Linked DNA regions of Homo sapiens: all the other regions are linked to region 2. The links are contacts of gene promoters, found by promoter capture Hi-C in human tissues and cell types (Jung and others, 2019). All regions are on one chromosome and are shown on one strand. Each heading gives the region's core, a stretch centred on a gene start or on the middle of the fragment in contact. The rest is flanking DNA. Distances are from core to core; before and after follow the strand shown.

The links. Contacts are between HindIII fragments. The study calls those that stand out against the background at their distance.
Region 1: a fragment that was not itself captured here is called in contact with the fragment with the promoter of POSTN in region 2 in 1 of the 25 tissues and cell types used here (dorsolateral prefrontal cortex).
Region 3: a fragment that was not itself captured here is called in contact with the fragment with the promoter of POSTN in region 2 in 1 of the 25 tissues and cell types used here (dorsolateral prefrontal cortex).

The regions. Positions count from the first base shown.
Region 1 is chr13:37,287,227-37,291,085 of GRCh38, reverse strand. No RefSeq gene overlaps it. Among named protein-coding and RNA genes, the nearest start is that of CSNK1A1L, 180 kb to the right of the region's middle. The HindIII fragment of the contact is 4,884 bases long and covers 1-3,858 here.
Region 2 is chr13:37,596,718-37,600,297 of GRCh38, reverse strand. It overlaps POSTN (periostin), which reads left to right and starts at 1,530. Exons shown (of 23, transcript NM_006475.3): 1 at 1,530-1,690; 2 at 3,016-3,114. The coding sequence starts at 1,572. The HindIII fragment of the contact is 6,079 bases long and covers 1-2,116 here.
Region 3 is chr13:37,156,607-37,160,170 of GRCh38, reverse strand. No RefSeq gene overlaps it. Among named protein-coding and RNA genes, the nearest start is that of CSNK1A1L, 53 kb to the right of the region's middle. The HindIII fragment of the contact is 4,524 bases long and covers 1-3,564 here.

The DNA of each region.
Region 1 (3,859 bases), core at 167-2,666, 310 kb after region 2:
GCTTTCTAAATGCTTATGTCGTGTTACCTCTTCATTGCTCTACCTACATCTCTTATTCTTATCCTCATCTGTACACATAGTCGACCTTAAAATGAGTTCTCAGACTCAGAGATTAATTTCATGAACTAAAGGAAGTCAGCCAAAGTGGAAAAGAGGAGTCAATTTCAGGTCTCTGATTCATTTTGGTCCACAAAGTCTGAGGTTTGAGTTGCCTCCAAACACCTGCACATAACTAGGAGAACAAAAATATGTTTTGTGACTCTCTAACCAACCACCTCTTAATGAAATGAATATTGTCATTTCCACAGGATAATTTTCATGGAAATGCACTTGGCTAAGCAATGGTGAATACATAAAGTCCAATTATTCACATACCATGCCTCTCTATTCATGAAGATAAATATATATCAGATTATGGAGATACCTATACAACCTGTCTTCTATAATAGTAGTAAACACCCAAGGGTGTTTAGAGTAACACTGAAAAGAAGTAAAACAAAAGGTACACAATCTATGGTCTAAGGCAGATTAAGTCAGGGCTCATCACCAGGCCACCATCCATCAACCCTCATTCTGACACCTATATCCAAGATAACCATTTGCAGCAAGTGATATACATAGGAGCTTGTGTTTTGCAAAAAGAATAAGAAAAGGGACTTTGTGACTGGAGTTTTATACTCTGAGAAGAGATAAATGGTAGGGATGCTATCATGTCTGTTCCAAACAGAACTACAGTTCTATGTTTCAGCCCGTATAATTAGTGGGATGAGGTCAAAAATTACTAAACTCTTCTCCATGAAAGATTCTGTAAGACATTGAGCCCAAGAAGAGGTTCTCTGGGCCTTTAATTTTATTTTAAATTGAGGGATAGTATTGGGAAAAGGCCATCCATGAAACCCTACAACATTTTGGCAACTCAAGGGCTATAGCTTGATGCAAAGTATTTTGGGGGGAGACATTTATCTTAAAGTAAATTAGTAAACCATGATGTGCAATGACAGTAATGAACCTTCTCAGGTAGCAGTTCTATGCACTTGGGAGCTAAAACATAAGAAGAAAAAGTCTGGGCCCAAAGGACAACCACATCTAGAGTGTGGACATTTTGAGACATCATTCTGGAAATATATGGAAATAACTGGGAGGTATTGAGATCCTGCTGTTATGCAGATAGAGGCGAACAAGTCAGCAGATATGTGGGTTAAATGTATAATAGGATTTTTTAAAGCTAATAAGTGAAAACATCCTTTTCCCTCCTAACTTTAGAAATGTTTGCGAGATTAAAGCAGGGTTAGGCAGAAGGAAAACAAAGATAGCTTTTATTACTGATGGATTCATGAATGTGGCTTCAGTGTTCAGTAATCACGAGCTTTCTAATACTGGATCCTCAAATTAAACAGAGTTACTCCAGTCACAGGCAATACTGAAGGCTGTAGATCTCTCCACTGGAATAGAAGGAAGGTCATAGATGAATATGTTCTCTCTGCAGGCTGACACTGATGAGATAAAAAGAATTAGGCTACATATGCAAAATTCCTCTTTCCAAACTCACGAGTAATCTTGGGAGCACTGAAGGAGAGAGTTGGATAAGCCACCAAGAGTCTTATACTTGTGGAATTCCTTCCACATGGAAAGACAAACTCTGTGGATAGGACCTTTCTCTCCACCGCCAGCAATGTGCAAAGAGCCTGGCACAGGGCCTATCATGTAACAGACTACAAAACAACCTACCGTGCTCCAGGCACTTACTTGCTAACAACATGAGTTGGATACCAAGAAATATTTGTCTTCCTTACTCCCAGAACACAGTATATACTGGATATTTGCTGAATTCTACTCTTCCTCCTTTTTCAAATGGTTAGAAGAAATATGCTTCTTAAAAGTAACAATTTGTAGTAAATAAGGCTATTTAGCAACTCTACAATTACAAAGGTGATGTGAAAAAGATTTCTACCTCCCAGTTGGATGATCCATGGAGGTAAGGACAGAGGAGCAATAGAGACCATATTCCAATTCAAAGTAACTATTATCAAGTGCTCACTGTGTCAAGCACTAAGCTAATACTTTCATAAATGATTGCATTTTTTTACAATTAAATACTTAACCACATCACAGGAAGAAAAATTGAGATGCAAGAGTGTTAAGTAACTTATTCAAGGAGTCATAAAAAAGAAGAGGTAGAATAATATTTTGAACTAAGTATGACCCAGACTCATTTCATTCCACTATATTGCACACAACATCAGCATATAGATATAAAGACAATTATAGCTTTTTAAAATGGATTTTGTGGGAAAAGCAAAAAAAAAAAAACTTGTGCTACTTTGAATCATACTATTAGGTAAGTTAAAATAATCTACTTAATATTATACCAGTTCTTCTAAAACTAGTTTTAAAGGATTTTTAAATCCTCAATGCATATTTTTAAAAAAACAATTTAAAAGACGAAGAGCTATATGGCCAATATATCAATAAATAGTCCTTGTTTCCCTTTAAATCATGCTGTATATGTTCTTCTTCAAACCCAAACCTTGGATAGTTACCAAAATTAGAGAAATTTTCCTTTACACTGCTCAGATACAGGATAACCCAGTGATCCCACTCTCTTGCAGGCATTTCACATGAGACATTTTAAACACAGGTGGAGATAATCTACGGATGCAAACCAACATAAAATCTGAAGTGGAAGAAAGCAGAGCCCCTCTTTTGTGAAGTGATAGCGCAGAGAAGCAGTACAGAGCGTCTAGAAGGAATATCAGGAACCTTTTGGCATAGCCTGCTTTGATTGTTCCCAGGAGCTTCCTTGGCTGTTCTGCACATTTCCTCTTAGCCTTATTTTCCACCACAACACTTCCCAGAGTGATTAGAAGCAAATAACAATGCCAGGCAAGTCCAAGTACACCGCAGATCCTCCCAAACAGTTGACACTTCCTGCTGCTTTCATTGGCAACTGCATAATGTAGCTTACTAGACAGATTTTAATTTGAGTTCTACTCATGCAATAATTTGAAATTTTTATTGATTCGTTTTCAAAATTATTTCTAGTTTCCTATTTAGAAAGAGCAAGTTATACTTTGGGTTAAGAGACAGAGGTTTTACATAGTGCTAGCCTTAAACATAAATGGAATAAGCCATAATCTGAAGAGTATTATTTGAGAGACATCCACAGAAGTCTAAATTATCTACATTTTTTTGCCTTGACATTTCTCACCTTTTTTATCCACTTTATCTTATATATATTCATTGCTAGAGTCTCTCATTTGAGTTGGAAAAATAAAACAAATTATCTCTGAAAGCTATTAAAACACACGTTATATAGAAAGCAATAAATAGAGAAAGATTATACACAAGAAGATTCCATATTGCATTGAGAAATCATGGTAAATTTCTTTATGTGGCTACAAATATTTCATCTTTAGGAGCAGAGATCGAGGAGAACATATGTAGAGTGCACCGAATTAGAGAAAACATCCGAGCCTATTACTTTGTTAAGTTTGCCAAAGAAGTTTTTCACATAGTTGTGGTAGTTATGTCATGTCTCTTGTTTCTAAGACCTGTGAGTACATTAAACTTTGTTATTTTGAGTCTGTCCTATGTCCCCTCTTGTGGAAACACCTTACTGATAATCACAAAAAAAAAAAACAGGAGGACTATGGACATAGCAGGGAGTGACTTGAGAAATTCCTAACTTCCTGCTTATGTTGACCATGAGTCTCTGTACAAGCAAAATAAAAACTAAACAGAGTTGTAAACTACCAGGACAGTGAAGGTATGTCCCAATTTTTACACAGAGACACTCAAAAAAGGTTGAGAGACAAGTTGGGTAAGGTAATAAGAACATCTCTGTCCAAGCTTTGGCTTA
Region 2 (3,580 bases), core at 281-2,780:
TCAGAATGATTCCATTCAGAGAAATGTAAATGATAGACTAAACTCTTCCTTCCACAAAGGACCAGGGTCAGAATATAATTTAACTTTTATGCTATCTCCTCTCCAGCTCTTCTTTTGAATTGCCCCTTCATTTTCTATAACTTAATCCCAAGATTTTCATATTGAAATGGCCTCTCGATCATATTTCAGCATTTGTGGTTTCACTGTGTGCTTTCTTAATAAACTAAGCAGCAAGTTGTAGAATATTTTAATATCCCATAGTGAGTTTAAGCATAACTCAGGATACTCAGAATCCTCTCTAGTTCAGTCCAGTTCCCCTAAAGCCTTCCCAATAGAACAACAAGGAGAATTCTGACAAAATCTCTCTACCTCACCAGTGGGAAAAGAACATGGATATGACATTACAGAGGGAGCATCTTGTAGCAAAATGGATTGGAATTACACTTTAGGATGGTGTGCAGCTTGTTTATTCAAGGAAGCTGATTGTGGTTACCATTTCAGCTCATTGTTTCCCTCTGATATTCAGATTTCTTTTATCCAAAGTTTTCTGAACATTTGACATATGCATGGAGTAGTAAGAACGCACATTCCTTTGGCTAGGGATTGCATAGTGTAACATTGAAAGGCTTTAGTTATTCTTGATAAAATCAGAAGAATCATTTTGGCAATGTCCATGTTTCCTAATATGTATTTAATTGTTCTAGTTATCTCTAGATTCGTAACACTTGCTTCCAATATTGGCTGCTTTTCACCAGTGGTTATCAGTAGATGTGCTGCATAGACATGTTCAACATCACATAAAGTGTGTCATGAAAAACAATAAAGCACAAATGTTTTTCCTTTCTGCTTCATTTCAAACCTTAGAGAAATTTGTCAGAGTAGATTTATGTTAACTCTATATGTTCCTTGATATTTGAAAAAGAAAGGAAATGAGAGGTAGCTCTCCTTTTTGTACGATAGCAAGGAAAATATGGACTCTCCTACATGGTTCTTCAGCAAGTTAGAATTCTTATTTCATATCTTACACAAGTTTTAAATCTATCCAGAGTTTGTTTTTAATCAACAGCCTTTACCCCCTTGTGATTGTCAGACTCGCATCTACCTTTGTTTTCTGGTAAAAATAATAATAATAATAATCTTTCAGTTCTGATGTGAACTGCAATAACACCTAACAATAATCTTGAGCACACAGACATTATACATTCTACTCTGGAAAGGATTGCAGAATATCTCTTAAAACTCAACAAAAGAATTTTTCTTAAAAACCCTCTAAGATACAAAGGAATAAAACTGAGACTTAAACATGCAGTGAGTCAATTGTTCATATGATTAAAAATAAGTACCTTCTTTATAATGAAAAGGAAAAGTAGCTCAATGTGTTCCTTAAATATAACTAACCAAAACAAATCTTAGCTGGCAATTTGAAGTTGCCGATGCTTCCTGGAAAGAGTTCAGACTCTCAGGTTGATGCAGTGTTCCCTCCCACAACTCTGACATGTATATAAATTCTGAGCTCTCCAAAGCCCACTGCCAGTTCTCTTCGGGGACTAACTGCAACGGAGAGACTCAAGATGATTCCCTTTTTACCCATGTTTTCTCTACTATTGCTGCTTATTGTTAACCCTATAAACGCCAACAATCATTATGACAAGATCTTGGCTCATAGTCGTATCAGGGGTCGGGACCAAGGGTAAGTGAGTGGTTTGGTTTTATAAACCATTTTTCTTTTTCCTCAGCTTGTTAGATGTTCAAGTATGCATAAAGTTTCTCATATATGCCTCAGGGTTTTTTTTCCTAATTATTATAAAGTAATAGGAAAAAAAGGAAAATGTGAGTATTCTGTGATTTATCTATGCACTTTTAAGCTTTAAGACTTAATTGCTCTCTAAATACCTTGAATATAATTGCTTTCTTATGAAATGTTATATAATTCTAATCTAATTAACACAATTTAGCTGGGCATTCTTTTATAATTCCATTTATTTATGTTTTTATTTTCTTCCAAAAATCTGAAATTGAGTTTTCAAAATTAAAAAATCTATTGTTAGGAACTATCATATGTATGCAAACAGCATTGAAATATCTCACATGATGTTAGAGAAAATTTTATTTAAATTACATATGAAGGTTAAATACTGGGTAATGTAACTAGTTCTCTGAATTCTTTGAAGCATTTAAGTTACTTTTAAACTCTGAATTCTGTAAAATTTGCAAAGGTAATTTATATTTTATAGAACTAATGCAACTACAACTAAGCATTTTTAAAATTACACATAATTTTGTAACTTATCCAACCATTTATAATTTTTTAAGCGGATCTTGGCACTTCTTCCTATGCCTCACAGGAATTTTCATAATGTTCACAAGCTTCTTTGACTTACAGTGAAAAAAGACTTCTGTCCCTTTAAGAGGGGAAGGGGAACCTTAAAATTGTGACAGAGGATGTTCTGATCTGTTACTTCCATTCAAAAAGATAAATTCTCCTTTGTGCAACCATATTGTTTCAAAGTTAATTTTAGCACATTTACTTCTGTGATTACTTACCTAGAAAATTACAGAGTATAGTGTCTGTGTACATAATAAACCTTGTCTCTTTTGCTCTCTGACCTCTCATTGTTCCAGAGAGCCCTGAAGTTATGGCCATCCTCCAAATGAGCACATGCTTGGTTTAAAAAGGGTCAGTAGATTATCTACCATTAAAAGTAATAAGGCACATAGAAATAAAATTACGTTCATACTGTTTGAATAGTCCTAGTTGGTTAACTTTTTGAAAAGCTTGTATTTTACTCTCAGAAATGTATAATTTTTCTCTCTCTCCCTGCCACCTCCTGTAGACTTTCGGTTTTTCAACAATTCAGTAGGATTGTGTCAATAATTAGATTTGTGCAAGGCTAGAATCATGTCTTTGGATATCAAATCCACATCTCAACATTTTCTTCTATCAACCAATCTTTAGATACGAAAAACTAGTCATTATTAGGACATTAACTTTTTTCCTTTCCCTCTATCCTCCAGCCCAAATGTCTGTGCCCTTCAACAGATTTTGGGCACCAAAAAGAAATACTTCAGCACTTGTAAGAACTGGTATAAAAAGTCCATCTGTGGACAGAAAACGTAAGTCTCTTTTTTTTTTCATAATATGTCAGTTCCAAAAACAACATCATGATGTATATGCCTTCCCCTGGGTGTACACACCATTCTTCTTGAAAATACTGACCAAAATTGTGAGAGTTATTTAAAGAAAAGAAAGGAATACATACGTGAATAAAGAAGTTCTCCCTGCATCTCCAATATTACTATTAGAACTCAGATTTCTTCCTGAATCCATGTGACATGGAGGCCAGAAGGAAGCAGATCACATGGCTCAGGATTGGGTATAGAATCCGTGTGAGTAAATGATGTTGTTTCTACTCCTGGTTTGGCCCTCTTTTATCTTAGGCAAGTCACTTAACCTCTGTGACTTAGTTTCCTCATTTTATAAAAAAGTGGGCCAGAAAAACAAACTGATTTAAAATATCAGAGTTTCTGAGGCAAAAAGTTAATGTTTGTCTCTAGTCATTTGGAAATTGTCTAAAGTATT
Region 3 (3,564 bases), core at 262-2,761, 440 kb after region 2:
AGATAAATCATTAAGGGAGAAAACTAACAAAGAAATTTTGGACTTAAATTCAATACCTGACAAATTAGACCTAATAGACATCTACAGAATATCCAATCCAACAAACACAGAATATACATTCTTCTCATTTGCACACAGAATATACTCTAAGATTGACCACATGCTCAGCCATAAAGCAAGTATCAACAAATTCAAAAAACTGAAAGCATACCAACCATACTCTCAGAATACAGTGGAGTAAAAACAGAAATCAATACCAAGAATATCTCTCATACCACACAAATATATGGAAATTAAACAACTTACTCCTGAATAACATTTGGGTAAATAATGAAATTAAGGCAGACACCAGGAAAATTATTTGAAATAAATGAAAACAGAACTACAAAATACAAACATCTATGGAATGCAGCAAAAGCAGTATTAAGAGGGAAGTTCATAGCACTAAATTCCTAACTCAAAATGTAGAATGATCTCAAATTAGCAATCTGAAATTACACCTAGAGGAACTAGGAACAAAAGAAACAAAGTCCAAATCTAACAGGAAAAAAAGAAATAACTGAAATCTGAGTAGAAGTGAACAAAACTGAGCCCCAAAAATTCATACAAAGGATCAATGAAGCCAAAAGTTATTTGAAAGGCTAAACATGATCAATAGACTACTTGCTAGATTAACAGAAAAAGAAGATTCAAATAAGCACAATCACAAACAACAAAGGCAACATTACAACTGATTCCACAAAAATACAAGAGATGCTCATAGACTATTATGAACACCCCTATGCACAAAAACTAGAAAATCTAGAGGAAATTGATTAATTCCTGTAAATACACAATCTCCAAGATTGAATCAGGAAAAAATTGAAACCCTGAGCAGACCAATATAGAGTTCCAAAACCAAATCAGTAATAAAAAACATAATCACCTAAAAAAAAACCTGGATCAGATGTATTCACAGCCAAATTCTACCAGATGTTCAACCTAGAGCCAGCACCAATTCTACTGAAACTATTCCAAAAAATCATGGAGGAGAGATGCCTCCCTCACTCCTTGTGATACCAAAGCCCTCATCATCTTGATACCAAAACCCTTATCATCCTGGTACCAAAACCTGGCAAAGACACAATAAAAAAAAAGAAAGCTACAGGCCAAGAGCCCTGATGAACATAGATGCAAAAATCCTCAACAAAATGCTAGCAAACTAAATCCATCAGCACATAAAAAAGTTAATTCACCACAATCAAGCAGTCTTTATCCCTGGGATTCAAGATTGGTTCAACATATGCAAATCAATAAATATGATTCTTCACATAGACGGAATTAAAAACAAAAAAAGTGATCATTTCAAAGGACACAGATAAAGCTTCTGCTAAAATCCAACATCCCTTCATTATAAAATCCTCAAGAAACTAGGCATTGAAGGAACATATCTCAAAATAATAAGAACCATCTGTGAAAAACCCACAGCAAACATCATACTGAATGGGCAAAAACTAAAACCATTTCCCTTGAGAACTGGAACAAGACAAGGATGCCCAGTCTCACCACTCCTATTCAACATACTACTGGACATAGTACTATGTCAACCAACATAGCGGTAGACATACTAGGTACTACCAACATAGTATATTTCTTCTTTTCCTATCTGGATGCCTTTTATTTCTTTCTCTTGAGAAAGAAATAAAAGGCATCCAGATAGCAAAAGAAGAAATCAAACTATCTCTCTGTGCTGACAATATAATTCTATACCTAAAAACCCCTAAAGACTTTGCCAAAAGGCTCCTGGAACTCAAAAATGACTTCAATAGTTTCAGGATACAAAATAAATGTACAAAAATCAGTAGCAGTTCTATACACCAACAACATTCAAGCTGAGAACCAAATTAAAAATGCAATCCTATTTACAATAGCCACAAAAAAAAAAACTACCTAGGAATACATCTAATCAAGGAGATGAAAGATCTCTACAAGGAAACACTGCTGAAAGATGTCATAGATGACTCAAACAAATGGTAAAATATTTCATGCTTACATGTTGCAACAATCACTATCATTAAAATGGCCATACTGCCCTAAGCAATCTATAGATTTGATGCTATTCCTATCAAACTATCAATGTCCTTTTTCACAGAACTAGAAAAAAAAAAAAAACTATTCTAAAATTCACATGGAACCAAAAAAGAGCCCAGATAGATGAAGCAATCCTAAGCAAAAAACTTAGGACTACCATTTGACCCAGCAACCCCATTACTGGGTATATATATCCAAAAGAAAATAAACCATTCTTCCCAAAAGACACATGCACTCGAATGTTCATTGCAGCACTCTTCATAATAGCAAAGACATGGAATAAACCTTGTTGTCCAACAGCGGATTGGATAAAGAAAATGTGATACGTATACGGCATGGAATACCATGCACTCATAAAAAAGAATGAAATCATGTCCTCTGCAGAAACATGAATGCAGCTGGAGGCCATTAACGCAGGAAAGGAAACCAAACGCTGCATGGTCACATATAAGCGGGATCTAAACACTGGGTGCTCATGGACATAAAGATGACAACATTAGACATTGCAGACTACTAGAGAGGGGAAGGAGGGGCACAAGGGTTGAAAAATTAACTATTGGTACTGTGCTCTGTACCTGGGTGGCAGAACCAACCATACCCTGAACTTCAGCATCACGCAATATACCCAGATAACAAACCTGCACATGTACCACCTATATCTAAAGCTGAAATTATTAAAAATTTAATAAATAAATTAAATAGTCAATATCAAAGAAACAGAAAGTAGAAAGGTGGCTGCCAAGGGCTTAGAGAGGAGAAATTGGTGTTTAATGGGCACAGAGTTTCAGTTTTACAAAATGAAAAAGTGTAGGAATCTGTTACACGACAATGAATATACTTACAACTAGTGAACTGTATACTCAAAAATGTTTAAGCTGGTAAATTTTATGTAATGTGATAGTAACCACAATTAAAAACAAAATTGCCTATAATCCCAGCTACTCAGGCAGCTGAGGCAGGAGGATCACTTTTGCCCAGTAGTTCAAGACTGCCATGAGCCATGATGGCACCACATAGCACCATTGTTAGAGATACTGGGGAAAATTAATTCTTTAAAAAGAAAAGTGTTAAGAGTCACTCAGACCACCTTAAGAAAAAAGGAGCTTATTATAAAAATATGAAAGGCTATACTCCAGCCTGGTGGGAGATTGAGACCCCATCTGTAAAAAAAACTTTAAATGATAATATAAAATTGAAATATTTTTTTAAACTTCATAGAACAGTCTATATCAAAATTAAAGATTTCAGTTCAATGGTGACCAGCTTAAACAAAGCTGAAAGGTCATGACAAACTAAGAAAAGAAATGCAATTTTTAAAACCCACAAGGGATTAATATTTAAAGCATACAAAAATTTTTGCAAATCAAAAAGAAAAAGAAAGCCCAATAGAAAATGAGGATATGAATTAGCAATTTACAGAATATGAAGCTTTAATGCTAAATACCTAAAGTTAATGAATGAATGCCCTAATTTAGTAATCAGCTACATGTGACT